4 separate regions of the Homo sapiens genome follow, and regions 1, 2 and 4 are each linked to region 3. Evidence: promoter capture Hi-C in 16 types of primary human blood cells and fetal thymus (Javierre and others, 2016). All regions are on one chromosome and are shown on one strand. Each heading gives the region's core, a stretch centred on a gene start or on the middle of the fragment in contact. The rest is flanking DNA. Distances are from core to core; before and after follow the strand shown. Region 1 overlaps GAB2 (GRB2 associated binding protein 2). Region 2 overlaps NARS2 (asparaginyl-tRNA synthetase 2, mitochondrial). Region 3 holds the start of GAB2 (GRB2 associated binding protein 2). Region 4 overlaps NARS2 (asparaginyl-tRNA synthetase 2, mitochondrial).

The links. The method cuts DNA at HindIII sites, captures the fragments that hold promoters and counts their contacts. A CHiCAGO score of 5 or more calls a contact.
Region 1: a fragment that was not itself captured here is called in contact with the fragment with the promoter of GAB2 in region 3 in 5 of 17 cell types (neutrophils, monocytes, M2 macrophages and 2 more); the score reaches 11.2 in neutrophils.
Region 2: a contact is called between a fragment that was not itself captured here and the fragment with the promoter of GAB2 in region 3, in 6 of 17 cell types (total B cells, naive B cells, M2 macrophages and 3 more). The highest score is 22.0, in total B cells.
Region 4: a fragment that was not itself captured here is called in contact with the fragment with the promoter of GAB2 in region 3 in 1 of 17 cell types (total B cells); the score reaches 5.4 in total B cells.

What each region holds. Positions count from the first base shown.
Region 1 is chr11:78,334,967-78,337,893 of GRCh38, reverse strand. The region is part of intron 1 of GAB2 (GRB2 associated binding protein 2); the gene reads left to right. Among named protein-coding and RNA genes, the nearest start is that of GAB2, 81 kb to the left of the region's middle. The HindIII fragment of the contact is 2,670 bases long and covers 1-2,663 here.
Region 2 is chr11:78,539,847-78,542,898 of GRCh38, reverse strand. All of the region lies in intron 5 of NARS2 (asparaginyl-tRNA synthetase 2, mitochondrial), which reads left to right. The region is part of intron 1 of NARS2-AS1 (NARS2 antisense RNA 1); the gene reads right to left. Among named protein-coding and RNA genes, the nearest start is that of NARS2-AS1, 8.2 kb to the right of the region's middle. The HindIII fragment of the contact is 285 bases long and covers 1,408-1,692 here.
Region 3 is chr11:78,416,473-78,419,201 of GRCh38, reverse strand. It overlaps GAB2 (GRB2 associated binding protein 2), which reads left to right and starts at 1,382. Exons shown (of 10, transcript NM_080491.3): 1 at 1,382-1,556. The coding sequence starts at 1,482. RefSeq lists silencers at 993-1,612, 1,723-1,822, 1,893-2,022, 2,485-2,729 and an enhancer at 1,642-2,396. The HindIII fragment of the contact is 5,597 bases long and covers 1-2,729 here.
Region 4 is chr11:78,491,059-78,493,987 of GRCh38, reverse strand. NARS2 (asparaginyl-tRNA synthetase 2, mitochondrial) reads left to right here. Exons shown (of 14, transcript NM_024678.6): 7 at 793-925. The region is part of intron 1 of LOC105369403 (a long non-coding RNA gene); the gene reads right to left. Among named protein-coding and RNA genes, the nearest start is that of NARS2-AS1, 41 kb to the left of the region's middle. The HindIII fragment of the contact is 4,140 bases long and covers 1-2,929 here.

The DNA.
Region 1 (2,927 bases), core at 79-2,578, 81 kb after region 3:
ACCACTCTGAGCTACAGCAGTTGTTCATGCCTCTAAACTCCTAATATTACTTCTGACTTAATGCTGTATTTGTGCTGCTTTATATTTTAAAAATGTACATGGCTTCTTAGCTAAGTTTGGAACTCCTTAATTACAGGATCTACACAGAATGTGTCTTACGGAATATAGAGAGGAACTCATTTGTGATTCATTTATTGACAAAACATTTTCTACTTCTCACCATTAGCTGCACTTGAGATAGGGTAGGGATGGGGAGTTACTAGAATGATGCTTTCTTCTTCTATGAGGGAAGACTTTTATTTTCTTTGCCTAATACTCTACCATTCTTTCTCCAACTTCCACCTTCTTTCTCTTTTCCCTGCCTCTAAGAGAACGGTGTGGGTTGTCAGGGGAGAAAACATATCATTCCATTCTTTTATTACTTTCTAGCCCCTCCTTAACTAAGTCTTGTCTGTGACATCACTGTGGGGAATTCTGCCTTACTTCCTAATAGGGCAAAAACTTCTGACCCCTCCCTGCCATTTCTGAGACTACAGCAAAAAGGAAACCCCCGCATAGTAGCTTCTGGTGCCTTTTGCATATTGCCTTTTGCCCTGTCCTTATTTCTTTTTGGACATTTGATTTAAGAGGCAAATAGTACTAGATGAGGAAATCAAACCCACTAACTGAAATCTACGCTGAGAAGCAAATGATTATCTGATCTTTTGCTGAGACCAAATGCTAAGAATGTGTTGAGATCTTGGAACCCAAAGGTATTAGATGAACATTGAGCAAGAAGCATTTAATCGCAAGGCTGGTTGCCCAGTCCAAGGTTCTTTGAATGTTGTTCCCTGCTAGTGCTAGTACTATAGTCTTCAGAAGTCCATAGTCAAAGGTAGGTAGATGCTGGAGTACTCACAGTCAGATTTCTGAGCAGTTGAATACAATGGCTTTTCTTCCCTTTACTATGATATTTTAGAAATAGAAATGACTAGATGCTAACATATTTTAGTTCAATATATATCACTTCTTGTCATTAATTCAATTCTTTGGTTTATTTTGTTTCTAATTGCACAGATAACAAGAATTTCCTAACATTTTTCTCATACCCTTTGGCCACTTAATGTTCCCATGCTATTTATTCCTGTTCATTTTTCACTGTTTGATGATGGTTATTGTTGAAATTTAGCAAATAAAATGTCAGCTGTGGCACCTGTATTTCCAGGGTCTAAAATAATGTGTAGACATCCATAGACAAAACACAAAATTCTAACTATTATCTATTTTATAAAACAAAGCACTTTACCAAGGTTTTAGAGATTTAAGGTGCCCGTTAATTATCCCTCCTCCCAGGAAGTCAAATTATCCTTGTTTGCTCATGATATGATCTCATATTTGGAAAAACCTAAAGACTTCACCAAAAAAAAAAAAAAACAACAACTATTACAACTGATAAATTCAGTAAAGTTGCAGGATACAAAATCAGCATACAAAAATCAGTAGCATTTCTATATGTCAACAGTGAACAATCTGGGAAATAATTCTTGTTGTGTTTTTTTTTTTTTTTTTTTTTTTTTTTTTTTTTTTTGAGAGACAGTCTCGCTCTGTCGCCCGGGCTGGAGTGAGTGCAGTGAGTGCAGTGGTGCGATCTTGGCTCACTGCAACCTCCACCTCCCAGGTTCAAACAATTCTCCTGCCTCAGCCTCCTCAGTAGCTGGGACTACAGGCGTGCACCACTATGCCCAGCTAATTTTTGTATTTTTAGTAGAGATAGGATTTCACCATGTCAGCCAGGCTGGTATTGAATTCCTGGCTTCCAGTGATCCGCCTCCCTCCGCCTCCCAAAGTACTGGGATTGCAGGTGTGAGCCACCATGCCCGACCTGGAAAATAATTTTTTAAAAAGTAATCCCATTTATAGTAGCCACAAATAAAATTAAATGCCTAGGAATTAATTTAACTAAAAAAGTGAAAGATCTCTGTAATGAAAACTATAAGACACTGATGAAAAAAACTAAAGAAGGCACCAGAAAATGGAAAGATATTCCATGCTCATGGATTGGAAGAATTAATATTGTTAAAATGTCCATACTACCCAAATCTATAGATTCAATGCATTCCCTGTCAAAATACCAATGACATTCTTCACAGAAATAGAACAATTCTAAAATTTATATGGAATCACAAAAGACCCAGAATAACCAAAGCTATCCCAAGCAAAAAGAACAAAACTTGAGGAATCACATTACCCACTTCAAATTATACTACAGAGCTATACTAACCAAAACAGCATGGTACTGGCAAAAAAACAGACACATAGACCAATGGAATAGAATAGAGAACCCAGAAACAAATTCACATACCTACAGTGAACTCATTTTCAACAAAGCTGCCAAGAACACACACTGGAGGAAAGACAGTTTCTTCAGTAAGTGTTGCTGGGAAAACTGGATATCCGTATGCAGAAGAATGAAACTAGATCCCTATCTTTCACCATATACAAAAATCAAATCAAAATGAATTAAAGACTTAAATCTAAAACCTCTAACTATGAAGCTCCTACAAGAACTGATTGGGGAAAATCTCCAGGACATTGGTCTAGAAAAAAATGGCAAGTGGTAACTCCACAAGCACAGACAACCAAAGCGAAAATGGACAAATGGGATCACATCAAGTTAACAAGCTTCTGAACAGCAAAGGAGACAATCCCTAAAATGAAGAGACAACCCACAAAATGGGAGAAAACATTTGCAGACTGCCCATCTGACAAGGGATTAATAACCAGAAAATATAAGGAGTTCAAACAACTCTATAGGGAAAAGTCTAATCTGATTTTTAAATGGGCCAAAGATTTGAATAGACATTTTTTGAAGGAAGACATACAAATGGCAGACAGACATATGAAAAGGTACTCAACATCATTGATCATCAGAGATACATAATCAAAAC
Region 2 (3,052 bases), core at 301-2,800, 120 kb before region 3:
AGGTCTCGCTCTGTCGCCCTGTTGGGAGTGCAGTGATGAGCCAGCGATCATGGCTGTCTGCAGCCTTGACCTCCTGAGCTCAAGTGATCCACCCACTCCAGCCTCTAGAGTTACTAAAACTACAGGTGCGCACCACCACACCCAGCTAATTTTTAAAGTAGAGTCAGGGTCTCACTATGTTGCTCAGGCTGGTCTTGAACTCCTGGTCTCAAGCAATCCTCCTGCCTCCACCCCACCGAAGTGCTGGGATTTATAAGTATTTATTGAGTACCTGCTGTGTTTAGTGGTAGTCAAGTCCTTTGTGTGGATACGTGGTTTGGAGACTTAACTCTGGAGCATAGGTATCCCTTCTCACAGAAGTCCTAGTTAACGGACTAGGACCATATCTTATCATATTCATCCTTAAAGCCCCAATCTGACAATGAATAAGCCAAAATTAATATTTTTCAAGCAATAGTGAAAAAAAGTTTGGTTCATTTTTCACCGACCCCTTTACATTTAGGAATAAGTTTGCTGTTTTGCAATTTTACATTTGTGTTTATCTCCTGTAAAAGAAAAATAAGGCAGCATTGTATATTCACTTTCTGTTTTGCCTCAACCTTACCCTCTAATATTAGACTCCACGCGTCTTTTCTTGATTCATTCTTTCTCAGACTGCTCAGCAGGAAAACACTGTTTACAAACAGTCTGACTTAATAACTTCCTTTCCTGCTGATCAAATAGTTGTTTAAATGAAACCTTTCTCAGGGCTGAGTGGGTGTTCTAGTTAGTGGGTGTTCTGGAATGTAAATGAACCCTTATTTTAAGAAAGATTATTTTTATACTAGCAGTTCTGTGTACACCAAGATACACATTTGTAGCAAGTGGAAAGTATGGAAACATAAACTGGACTTATTGGAAATTTTTAGATTAGTGAAAGACCTACATATATGGCTTGTTAATAGGCAAATCCCAAAACTAACATAACCGGCAAAATAGAATGCAGTTTATTGAGCCTGTTTCCCTTGGCTTTGGTTTTTACGTATGAGATGCAGTCTAATGGCATGCAGAACAATTTCTGCAGCAATGATAGCAACTGCATTTGAGATACAGCTTGATAGGGATCATGAAACTACCAACCCACAAATCTTTGGAGACTGTATGACAGATTTAGTTCCTATGATTGATTGCTTGGTTGGTTGATTGATTTTAGAGGCAGAGTCTTACTCTCTCACCTAGGCTGGAGTGCAGTGGTATGATCATAACTCATTGACCTCAAACTCCTGGACTCAAGTGATCCTCCTGCCTCAGCCTCCCGAGTAGCTGGAATTACAGGCACCCTCCACTACACCTGGCTTGTTTTATGTTATATGATCAGCATTTCATACTTAGGAGAGACTAATATTAAAAGCATTTTAATCCAAAGCTTTATTTCAACACTACAGGATAAAAAATGCGAGAGCTGGGCACAGTGGTATATGCCTGTAGTCCCATCGGAAGGCAGAGGTGAGAGGATCACTTGAGCCCAGGAGTTCAAGACCAGCCTGGGCGACATAGCAAGACCTTATCTCAAAAAAAAAAAAAAAGTGACATGACTTATTGGAAAGGTGATTGTACTAGAAGCTGAGAAACCTGGATTCTACAACTGATCTTACCAAAAAGTAGTTGTATATAACATTTATTCTAACATTTGACATTTAACATTTTTAAGCTTTAGCATCTTTTACAAGAGGGAAGTTGAATTAAAATTTTTTTTTTTGAGATGGAGTTTCACTGTTGTCACTCAGGCTGGAGTACAATAGTACTAGTTTCAGCTCACAACAACCTCTGCCTCCCAGAGTCAAGCAATTCTCATGACTGAGCCTCCCAAGTAGCTGGGAATACAGGCGTGCGCCACCACGCCTGGCTAATTTTTGTATTTTTAGTAGAGATGGGGTTTCACCATGTTGACCAGGCTGGTCTCGAACTCCTGACCTCAGGTGATGCGCCTACCTTGGCCTCCCAAAGTGCTGGGATTACAGGCGTGAAAAAATTAAAGTTTTATCTAACTTAGATTTTTTTATTCTTTACTATCTGTATCGTGAAAGGCATAGCCTCCCTCTAATCTCTTAATTGGGATCAAGAAAGAAAATAGGATATTCAGTGGTTATATGGAGCTTACAGATGGTGAGTACTCTCCCTTTTCTTCATGATCTTCAAAGGAAATTGCAGATTGAGGTAAACAGGACAATAGCATGCCATTATGATTTTAAACCTTTTAAATTTCTGAACCATGCTTCATCTTTATGTATTCTCTTCCCAACTTTTTGTCTCTGGGATTATGAGTAAATAGAACTGGGTAAAAGGTGGGGGTAGGGTACAAAGTAGAAAATGGAAAAAGTAAAAGGAGATAAAAATAGATTGGGTGTTTCAGTGATTGTAGAGGTCAAATAAGTTTTCCATTGTTGATTATATTCCTTTCCACTGTTCAGCTTACTGCTATTTACTCTCGCTCCTTGCTATATATTTTACATGGAGACAGAGTCGGACTTGTGTGGGTTTTTCTATTTAATTCTCCTGAGATTGTGAAACTGCTCAGCTAAATTTGTTCTGCTGTGAGAACAAATAACTGGAGGGCAATTCAAAATACTTGTTTAATATTTTCTTGGAAATCCTCAAAGAAACAGGGAGGATTTTAGATCCGTGTGGTAAGAAATTCACTGGGATACACACATTAAAAAAATTTTTTTGGTAGCTCTTGGTTTCCCCTTTCTTGGCTGTGCTATTTACTGTCTTCCAGTGGCAGAATAACCTAGCAAAAATTTTTGTTTTGCATAATAGAGAAAGGCTAGGTTAAGTTTTATTGCACTAACGTAAGTTTTATATGATCAGGGAAAGGTTAGTCTATCATGGACTGTTTAGGATGGGAGGTAATCATCCTTTATATTGATTTTCAAACATTTTTGTTCAAAAGTGTTTTCCAAACAAAATCTTATACCAAGACCCTCTATAGAAGATAGATAAAAGGAATGACTTTGTTTATCAGATAGCTCAAATCCACGTGGTTTTGTTGATAGACTATATGAATGCCTTA
Region 3 (2,729 bases), core at 133-2,632:
GGGGACTGACCGCTAAAACTCCCAGGGTATCTAGAAGAGCTAAGTACGTGGTAGGGGATTCGCTTTTCCAAATTGAGGAGGGTGAACTTCCCCCAACCCAATCAAGATCTTTTGGACCAAATGATGTCCAACTGCTTGAAACAACTCAGCTGCACAGAGACAGAAATAAACAAAACAGCTTTAGTCTGAGGTTGTGTGGGGCACTGCAAGATGCTGCTTCTCCAATTCATCTGTCCACACAGCACGGTTCCCCATTGAATAAACAGGTTACTATCCACTTATCAGAGAAGTTAGGGAGGACCTGCCTTTTAATGCTGCTTAGAGAGACACTTTGTGATGAGAAAAGAGCTCGTACAAAAGATTTTTTTCTCCCCCCTCCCGCTGAAGTGCTGGGGTTGTGTGCTTCCACGTACATCTGGGATACCATTATATTTACAAACAGAGGTCTCATAGCCTGTGTCAATGAGCGGGAACGTTGGGGAATTTGGACCCCAATTTCTTGTTCTTCTGCACTTGACCTTGCCTTCCAATTCGTTATGAAATACATTGACTAGTTTTGCTTCTTCCATTCTACAAATCATGCGAATTTTCTATACTAAACTGTGTTTTCCCAGAGGCAGTGTAGGAGGGAGTCAGCTGGACTTGGTTTCCAGGCAATGAGAGGCTCCCAGGTCGATCCCATTAAGGCAATGCCCTCATTTTGAATAGCAGATGACCGGGACCCCTCCTCCCCCACACACCTGAATTGGAAAATTGGCTCGGCTTTGTACAAGCCCTTGCCCTTAGGCTGTCCATAAAATAGGAACAATACTGAAGACAATCCTGTAAGCTACAAAAGCAAAGGCTCCGGCGCGTAGTAGGTCCGTCTCCTCCTCCCGCCGAGGGACGCCAGAGTTAAGGAGCTTCTTGCTGGGAAGGGGTCCCTCCTTTCAGCCGGAACCTGACCCGCAGAATGTATCGGAAATGTGAGCAGCCCTAGTATCCCTTCCCCGTCGACGCTCGGTGAAAAATCGATCGACGACCGAGGGCGCGCAGTCCCTTCCCCTCACACCCGCCAGCGCCAGGGGCGCGGTCGCCTCCCTGGCCTCCGCGCCCGCGGCTTGGGGCCTCAGGAGAAAGCGAGACTCCGGGGCGCGCCGGCGGCGGTGGCTTTCTGTATCCTCGCGGGTCCCTAGCCCCGCGTCCGCGTGCGCGGCGGCCTCGGGGGCGCGGCGGGAGCGGGCGTGGCGAGCGAGCCGGCCTTCCTGCTGCAGCTGCTCCCCCGGCGGCCGGGCGGAGAGTGCGGATTGCGCGCGCTCGGGGCGGGGGAGCGGGCGCGCGCGAGGCTGCCGGGCTCGCGCCGCGCCGCGCCGCCTAGTCCCCGCCGGGCCGCCCGCCCCGCCCCTGGCCTCCCGCGAGCTGCGCACCGCCGGCCGCTGCCCCAGCTGCCCGAGCCCGCGCCCTCGTCCGCGCGACCCGGCGGGGGGCTCCAGGCCGGCAGCATGAGCGGCGGCGGCGACGTGGTGTGCACCGGCTGGCTGAGGAAATCGCCTCCCGAGAAGAAGTTGAGGCGCTATGTGAGTGCGGGCGCGGCCGCCCAGGGGCGGGCGGGGGGCGCTCCGGGGCCTGCGGAGGGGCGGGGGACTCCCGGAGGGGCGGCAGGCTGGGGAGCTCGGGCCCGGAGCCGCGGGGGGCCGGGGGCGAGGAGCGGCCGGGGGCGTGTGGGGCACCTGCACACCTGTCACAGGTGGGCCGCCGAGGGGCGGGGCGGGCGGCAGGTTGAGGCTGCGGCTCCTGCTCCGCCAGGCGGGTGCGGCTGCGGCGCCTCCCAAGCCGGTCTGCTCGTGAACTAAATACAGTGTCGAAGTTTTGTATTGATGGCTTCTGGAGACCGAGAGAGTTGACTCTCGGGGCTGGGGCTCCGCGGCAGCCCCGAGCAGCTTCAGCCCGCAGGGTCGGGGAGAGGGCGGGAAAGGGGGGCGTAGGCTGTGGGGCCGCGCGGACGGCCCCACAAAGGGCGAGCGCCTCACGCCCTCTCCTTCCCTTTCTCCGCCTGCCCCTCCCGGCCGCCGGCCTCCCTCCGTCCGCGGCTGCATCACCGGCAGCGTCAGCGGCATGTGCAGCCCTTGTATTAAGTGACTCATTTGTTTGTCCCCCTTCTTTCCCTTTATTCCGTTCGTCTCTCACAGGCGCCTCCCCCCGACCCCGGTGTGACACTGCAGTTTGGTCCCCGTGGCTGGCCCGGGTTTGGGACCGGGCAGCTCCCGGGTGTCTGGGGTCGGGAGAGATCGAGGCTCTCCGCGGCCAGGTGTTGCCAACCGACAGTGTTTACTGAGATCGCTGGAACAGCCTTTTCCCTCTAGGTGGGGAACTGGCAGCCTGGGGGAGGTGGAACAGCGTGGCGCTGAGCCGTGGAGTTCTGGCTTTTTTTTTTTTTTTTTTTAACCCCTCTCCCCAGAGGATGCCTTGCCTGGTGAGGTCAAAGTACAAGATGGTGCCAGTTACTGAGATTTGGCCGAAATGGTCTTGGGGTAGTCGCGGGAGTTTGGAAGTGGGGGTAAGGTTGCTGGAAGGTTTCAAGGTCTCTCATCTGCTCCCTCTCCGTTTCCCATGAAATGCCCTTGTTTAACGGGCTGTGGTGCCGAACTCCGGGATCACTCCCACAGCCTGGAAGGGAGCCGTTGCCTCCAGCTGCAGTGCATCAAGGGAGCTCGGAATAGACCCTGCCCTCTGTCAGCTGCACCAGTGGC
Region 4 (2,929 bases), core at 221-2,720, 75 kb before region 3:
GTATCTGACGTTCTTTTTTCTTGTGTTTAAAAAATAAATGAACACACCTTATCTACATGAAATTCTAGTTTTCACTGTTATTATCTAGATTTTCTGTGGGGTTTCTTGGGCTGCGGTGTTTTTTTCTTTACTTTGTTCTTGATTGCTGTGAAATGTAGTTGCCTGCTGTTTTAAGGCAGCTGCAGTAGAGTGCACCCAGAAGTGGTTATGTTTCTATATTTAGTAAAACCATAGGATTTGTGAAGCAGTTGCAGATTCCTTCAGGATAAAATGGTTTCTATAAATGTAACTTTTTTTTTTCTTTTTTTTTTTTGTTTGTTTGTTCATTTATTGAGACAGGATCTCACTCTCGCCCAGGCCAGAATGCAGTGGCATGAACATGGCTCACTGTGGCCTCCACCTCCTGGACTCAAACGATCCTCCTGCCTCAGCCTCCCAAGTAGCTGGACCTATAGGCACAGGCCATCACACCTAGCTATTTTAAAGGATTTTTTGTAGAGATAAATTTTCACCATGTTTCCCAGGCTGGTCTTGAACTCCTAAGTTTAAGCAGTCCTCCCAGGAAGTGCTAGGATTACAGACCTGAGCCACTGTGCCCAGCCTCAATGTAACATTTTTAATGAAACTGTTATTATCACCTATTAGAGAAATATGTAGCAGCAAATATGTGTCAGTCTGTGGACAAGACAGAGGCACACAAAACTTTATTTTCCGTAAGAGCTCACTGAATATTTAAATACTTAAAATTAATCATGTGAATTCTATTTGCATTCTCTTAATCTTGAATTGCAGAGCTTTTACTCAAGTGTTTACCTTTGGTCCGACCTTCCGAGCTGAAAATTCTCAGAGCCGGAGGCACCTGGCAGAGTTTTATATGATAGAAGCAGAGATTTCTTTTGTTGACAGCCTTCAAGATCTTATGCAGGTAGGTACACAAGTTTTAAAATACCAGGTATCTGTGACATTAAAATGTTTCTGTATATATTTTTACCTCGGACGTTTATGTGTTACAGGTATTCATAAAGTGAAAAGAAGGGGTAACTACTTAATAAACACTTATTGAATGCCTTTACTGTAATAGTTTAAAATACAAGAGTCAGACAGATTTAAGTTTATATCCCAGCTCTGCCATTAGCTTTGCTATGAAGTTCCCTGACTTTCATGATCTTTAGGTTCCTCAACTCTAAAATGAGAATAATTGTGCTTACTCCTAAGGTTATGTGAGGGGTAAATGAAATTGTATATATAATATAATGCATATAGCATGGGGTCTGGAACACAAGCAGGTTCACTAAATAGTAGCTCTGATTTGCTAGGAAAATATACCAAACATCTTTATAATTATATAAATGTCTGTAATACTTACATAAACCCCTATGTAGCTATATTAGAAAGCATCCACAGGAGCTATCAGCTCAGTTGAGCAGGGGACAAGGCTGGAGAGATGGTCATGGTCAGGCAACAGATCATGAAAGACCTTGTATTTCAGTGCCATAGTAAGGAGTTTGAACTTTACCCAAAATTTAAGGAGCAAGAGTTCTAAATTGGAAAATGAAGGTCAGAGCTATATTTTAGGCACATCTTTTTAGCAGCAATATGAACAATGATTTAGAGGTAGATAAAAGTAGAGAGGCCTTGTTAGGAGGCTGTAGACATAATCCAGACAGTGCACACAAGTGGAATTGAATGGACCAAGATTTGATGCTTAACCACTCACATGCTATGTGACCAACTTAGACAAGGGACTTAATGTCTCTAGGCCTCAGTGTCTTCATCAAAATTCCAATACATAGGAATAAAAATTCCTACTTTATAGGCTACTTGAGAAGATCAGGTAGATAAAATCTATATATGTGTGTGTGTGTGTGTGTGTGTCTGTATATATATATATATATATATGAAGTACTTAGCATAATTTATGGCACTTAGTAAATACCCAGGAATTGTTAACTGTTAAATTATGAATTGTCTATTCAGAAGCATTGTGGTTACTATCTTAGTTTGGATTTGTAATTATGGGATGTTTATTTTAGTGATTTTCATCAACTCTCCTTTCTGTTCATTTCTATGTCTTTCTACTCTTACCCAGTAAATGACCTATTTCCACTTAAAACATAAATACCATATATATCACAAATAGAACAGACTAATTATTTTATTACCCTGTCTTGAGTTGGATTTCCTAGTAAACAAAACTCTCTAAGGCAGAGATGTGTGGGCAGGGGCGTTATTAGGGAGTGCTCTTGAGAACAGTATTCATAAGGAAAGGAAGAAAGTCACATTGAACAGTGGGAAGTGTGAACTGTGATCCATTTACAAACAGAGGCCTTAGCTTCTTCTGTGAAGAACTTTGGAACTGGAATGGTCCTAAACCAGATGGGAACAGTTGTCCCATCTAAAAGCAAGGCGTTAGCACTTTGTGCCTTCCCATATCAACCAATCATTGGATGTGATTAGCCACTGGAAGGGGCATAACCTTGAGTAAGGCAGTACCTTTGGGTCTCGACAGTTCCTGATGAAGCACTCAACTATAAACCATCAGCAGTTAGTAATATTCCTGGATTCCCATATAGGGCACTTGGCCCTGAAGGGGCATTCGGCCACACAATATAGCATTTCACTTCCATGCTCCCTTTACACTTCCCGCTGAGCATTTTGGATCAGTCCCCATGGGACATTTTTGGTTATCCCTATTAGGGAATGGGCAGGGAAGGGGGAGAGTGGTCACTACTAGCATGTAGTTGGTAAAGGCAGAAGTGCTGTTCAACAACCTAAAGTGCACAGCCACCTTCTCCCCGGTAATTAGCTGGCCCAAAGTATCAGTAGTGCTGCTGTTGAACAACCATATTCTGGACTGTAGGGATTCAGGATCTGAGCTTCAGAAGGAGTCAGTGGCATTCCTTAAGTAGCTTTCACTTGAGCCCATCCC